Linked DNA regions of Homo sapiens: region 2 is linked to region 1. Evidence: promoter capture Hi-C in human tissues and cell types (Jung and others, 2019). All regions are on one chromosome and are shown on one strand. The core of a region is centred on a gene start or on the middle of the fragment in contact, and the rest is flanking DNA. Distances in the headings are between cores, read along the strand shown.

Region 1 (2,802 bases), core at 1-2,500:
TTTTTTTTTTTACTGAACATTAACAAAAGTTTATTTATGTTTCAATTTAGAAATTCATATGTTCCATAGTGAAACCCCGTCTCTACTAAAAATACAAGAAATTAGCCAGGCGTGGTGGTGGGTGCCTGTAGTCCCAGCTACTTGGGAGGCTGAGGCAGGGGAATGGCGTGAACTCGGGAGGCAGAGCTTGCAGTGAGCCAAGATCATGCCACTGCAGTCCAGCCTGGGCGACAGAGTGAGACTCTGACTCAAAAAAAAAAAAAAAAAAAGAAATTCATCTGTTCCCCCCACCCCCATCTGAAACTAAATATGGAAAAAGAAACAAAGACTTAATAAAGAAACTTTCTGTTAAATGACAAGCAAAGCAATGATGAAAGCCTAAAATACATCTGTGTTTAGGATGCAAAGTAAAAATAGCTTTTTTTTTTTTTTTTTTTGAGACAAGGCCTCACTCTTGCCCAGGCTGGAGTGCAGTGGCATGATCTCGGCTCACTGCAGCTTCCTCCTCTCAGGCTCAGGTGATCCTCCCACCTCAGTCTTCCGAGTAGCTGGGATTAAGGCGCACGACACCATGCCCAGCTAATTTTTATATTTTTTGTAGAGACAGGGTTTCACCATGTTGCCTAGGCTGGTCTCAAATTCCTGGACTCAAGTGATACGGCTCCCTCAGCCTCCCAAAGTGCTGGGCTTACCGGCATGAGCCACTGCACTGGGCCAGATTGTTCTTTCAGTCTAGGCATGCCCCCTTCTAGCTTCTGTTCTAACACACTCATCGGCTTGGAGAGGGAAGTGAATGGCAGACTGTCAGTCCCGCGAAGTCTTCTGAGATTATCTGGTTCAACATGTTACATGTTGTGTGTGGTGAAACTGAGGCTCAGGAGTGCAAATGGGCTTATCCAAGGTCATACGGGGAACTAGAGGCCCCAGACCTCCAGCCTGGGCCTTAGGCATCTGGCCAATGGCCCACAGTCCCAAGGCCAGGCTGCCAGAAGGACAAGGAGGTAGAAAGGAATTGCAACCAGAATCTATGGTGTATGGTTAATACGTGTTACATGCTAACTGCAATGAGGTCTTGAATGCCGAGTTGCTCACAGACTCACCCAGCAGCAGCTCGGCCTGGAGTGACAGGTGAGAGGGAGCAAAGGGCAGCTGGCGTGGGCATGGAGCTGGCTGGGTGTGCCCCAGGCCTCTCCCTCTCATCTCTAGGCCTCACCTATCAGCGCTTCCTTCCTGGGCAGGGCTGAGGATTCACTCACTGCCCACGGCCGGCTGAGCAGGGACAGGAGAATGAGAGGCCTCCGCTGGCGTTACACTCGGCTGGTAAGGGTTCCAACTCCGTCTGTGGTGCAGGTTGGGAGGTGAAAGGAGGTGAGGTCTCTGGCAGGGTGGGGCCTGGGCTAGGGTTGGATGCGGGCAGTGACTTGTTCCCCTCTCAAGTCCCTCCCTGGCAGGCCTGTGGTTTGGAGCAAGGACTGACTCAGGAACATGGGGTCTTAACACCCCTGCTCCAAGGTTCTCAAGGGGGACAGACCGATGTCTCTGTCCCTTCCTCCCTGGAGTGGGTGCTGGATGGAGCTCTGTTCAGAGCCACACACAGCTAGACCTGCCTCAGGCCTGAGCCTGGAGAACAGAGCGGGGCAGGAGAGGGGGTCCTGTCCATCTCTCAGCCCTTGAGAGGTCTCTTCTTCCTGGGAAAAGCCTGCAAGGTCATTGTGTGGAGGCACACACATACACATACATATAACATATACACACTCACACGCATACACATGCAAACACACACACTCACACACTCAAACACACTCAAATGCACTCATACACACTCAAATGCACTCACACACTCAAACACACATACAGACACACACACATTCAAACACACACACTCACACACACACTCTGGTACAGAGTGGAAGCTCGGATGAATGAATGAGTGAATAATGATGCCCCTTATGGATGTAGATATTTACACCATCACAACTCACACAAACACATTGATATATAAACACAAATTTACACTCAATACCTCCACACATTGATGTGCCTACACAACTCTATTCCAAGCCAACACACAATTCGCACAGACAAACACATTTTACATGAACCTACATGTATGATCCCACATATGACTGCATGCATCATTTCACGGGCTTCATGGGGAAACCTTTGGGCTTCATTTTCTTCCTTTGGAAAATGCTGATAAGAAGAAATACACAGAAGGCCAGGCGCGGTGGCTCACGCCTGTAATCCCAGCACTTTGGGAGGCCAGGTGGATCATCTGAGGTCAGGAGTTCGAGACCAGCCTGGCCAACAGGAGGAACCCGTGTCTCTACTAAAAATACAAAAATTAGCCAGGCATGGTGGTGGGCACCTGTCATCCCAGCTATTTGGGAGGCTGAGACAAGAGAATTGCTTTAACCTGGGAGCCAGAGGTCGCAGTGAGCTGACATTGCACCTCTGAACTCCAGCCTGGGTGACAGAGCAAGACCCTGTCTCAAAAAAAAAAAAAAAAGGAAAAAGAAAAAAGAAGAAGAAACACACAGAGATCACAGACAGTGCACACTGAACACAGGCCTGGGCAAGGATGGGTTTTTTGTTGTTATTATTTAATGTACAAACACACACAATTGAAGCTCCCAGGGCTATGCCACCACCTGCCTTCCCCTCTGCTCCCAAGCTTAGAACTTGATCCCTGCCACCCACCCAGGACCATGGCAAACAGACCGACAAGTCGCACGGCCCACGGCCCCATCTGAGCCTTGTGGGGTGCTGGCGGGGGTGGGGGGACTGTGCTCCAGCCCTCAG
Region 2 (2,806 bases), core at 285-2,784, 140 kb before region 1:
ACCAATGCAGAGGCAGGAGAAATAACTAAGGATTAGGATGGTCAGGAGTTTCCCAAGGGAAGGGAGAATGATGGGCCCTAAAGGGATATGTTTTGAACAGGGGAAGGGAGGAGGGACATACAGGTGAGGACATCAGGGTTGGGAAAGAAAGAATTAAAGACAATACACTCAGGCAGGGCACCTGTAATCCCAGCACTTTGGGAGGCTGAGGTGGGAGGATCACTTGAGGTCAGAAGTTCAAGATCAGCCTGGCCAACAAAGTGAAACCCCATTTCCACTAATAATACAAAAATTAGCTGAGCATGATGGCGCATGCCTTAATCCCAGCTCAGGAGGCTGAGGCTTGAACCCAGGGGGTGGAGGTTGCAGTGAGCCGAGATTGCACCATTGCACTCCAGCCTGGGCAGAGCGAGGCCCTGTCTCAAAAAAAAAAAAAAAAAAAAAAAGACAATACATTCAGGAGACACCAAGAACAATATAGCTGGGAAAGAAGACAAGCTGCAGAAGTAGCCTAGGTCAGAATGCAGAGCACCTGAGCTGGACTTTACTACACAGACAACCCCTGAAGGTTTCTGAGGAGCAGAATGACACAGAAGCTTAACTTTTTTCAGTTGTTTAAAACTTGGTCATGTTGTCCACGTAGTTATCTTAGCTACACTTAAACCTGGGAAGCAGTGAAGATTATCAATGACTCAGCCCCAACCTTAAAGATCCAATTTAATTGGGCTAACGTAGGGCCTGAGTATTGTTTTTAAAGCTTCACAGGTAATTCTTACATGCAGCTAGGGCTAAGAACCACTGGTTTACAGTAATGCCCTCATTCTCCAATGAGAAAAGAGGCCCAGAAAATTTAAGTGATTTCTGAATTCACACAGCCAGCTAGGTGTGGAGCTGGAACTAGCATGCGGATTCCTAGCTCAGCTCTGAAAGAGATCCCAGAGTACTGGGCTAAATTCCATACTTCAGTCTAGAAGATGCACAATTATCTGATGACTTGGCTCTTAAGTTTCCTCAGGGTTAAAGGCTGAATTAATCTAATCCTAAAACTATTGACTTAAACATCCCCTCAAGTGTCTACGGTAATGGATGTTGGTTCTACTGCTGTCTCCTGGGGGCCCTTAGGAAAGCAAAGGATCTCAGGAGACTCCCCCAGGAAGCCAGATAAACAAGCCAAACCACCCAGCTCCATGGAAGACTTTTAAAAATGCAGCTGAGATTTTTCACTGCATAAAGGAAAGTCTGGGTACCTCTTCGCCAGAAGAAATTCTCTCAGAGATGCTATCCCCCCTATCTCCATAAGCTAAGGGGTGGGGAAGGATCAAAGGCAGCTACTTAAGTAGCTGATATGCTCACAGATCCTCACTGTAACAGGAAGTACCCCTGCTCATCCTCAGGCCTAGATAAGGGCCATTCACACCCCTCATATTTTCCTGAAAGGAAAAGGGCAGCAACCCCTGCAATAGGCCCACCTTCCTGTTGTGTCACTCCTGGGTTCTGGCAGCAGGTGGTAAATGAGAGGTTTGTAGAGACTGCCAAGCTGGAAATCTGAGTCTGTCTTATATATTAATTCTATCCCTTCCAGGGTCCTGGTATAAATAACTGCTAGAACAAAGCAAGACCCATCTAGGAGCCTTCTTGTTAATCCCAGACACCCATCGGCCAGCGGAAGTTTTAACACAGGAGTCATACTAAAGTAACTCTAAAAGCAGAAGCACAACCCCCTGCCTTCCACTCCTGAAGAAGGCAACTCAGGACACGAGGAAAGCTACCACCAGCAAAGCCCTGGGGTGTGCTCTTAGATGGCTCCAGGTTCCTGCCAGCTGTAAGGCGGAATCCCTAAAAACAATTTGTACTTTAAGGCAGCCTGAGTGAGGTAAAGGACAAACAAGAGCCCTAAAATGCAGTATATAATACTCATACGAGCCAAATTTATTGAGCGCTTAACACTATGCCAGGTACCGTGATAAGCACTTTATGGATTCATTATTTCATTGTGCTTCCCAACATATTTAATCCACCCCATTTTACAGATGAAGAAACTGAAGCTCGGACGGGGTATTGTAATTTGCCAAAGGTCACACAGCTAGCAAGCAGCAGAGCAAGGATTTGAACCTGAGCAATCTGCATCCTGACCTCTATAACCAATTTTCCCCACTTGATGCCATCTGATCATTAATCCTTCTAATGCATATTCTCAGGTTAGGTTACGGGAGCTTACCAGGATGTTACTATAAAATAATTCTGAAAATTGGCTGGGCGCAGTGGCTGATACCTGTAATACCAGCACTTTGAGAGGCTGAGGTGGGCGGAGTTTGAGACCAGCCTGGCCAACATGGTGAAACTCACCTCCACCAAAAATACAAAAAATTCGCCAGGCATGGTGGCGGTCACCTGTTGTCTCAGCTACTCAGGAGGCTGAGGCATGAGAACTGCTTGAACCTAGGGGGTGGAGGTTGCAGTGAGCTGAGATTGTGCCACCGCACTCCAGCCTGGTGACAGAGCAAGACTCTGTCTCAAAAAAAAAAAAAAAATTCTAAACCCCATACAAAATTTAGGTATCGTTATTATCATTACTACTTTAATATGAGACTTGTACCTACCTGGGGGTATTGGAAATGCAATACAACCTGTGGACTAATCATCCAAAGTTATATTTTAGTGAACACCCTGGTTAAAACCATCCCAACAAAATGACTTAAAAGCAACACTTTCTCCTAGCACTTTCGGAGGCCAAGGCAGGAGTTCGAGACCAGCCTGGCCAACATGGTGAAACCCCGTCTCTAATAAAAATACAAAAATTAGCCAG

Evidence for each region. Contacts are between HindIII fragments. The study calls those that stand out against the background at their distance.
Region 2: a contact is called between a fragment that was not itself captured here and the fragment with the promoter of TLDC2 in region 1, in 1 of the 25 tissues and cell types used here (aorta).

The regions. Positions count from the first base shown.
Region 1 is chr20:36,874,888-36,877,689 of GRCh38, forward strand. TLDC2 (TBC/LysM-associated domain containing 2) reads left to right here and starts at 1,251. Exons shown (of 7, transcript NM_080628.3): 1 at 1,251-1,320. The coding sequence starts at 1,288. The HindIII fragment of the contact is 10,775 bases long and covers 1-2,802 here.
Region 2 is chr20:36,735,548-36,738,353 of GRCh38, forward strand. All of the region lies in intron 1 of NDRG3 (NDRG family member 3), which reads right to left. Among named protein-coding and RNA genes, the nearest start is that of NDRG3, 9.1 kb to the right of the region's middle. The HindIII fragment of the contact is 3,411 bases long and covers 1-2,806 here.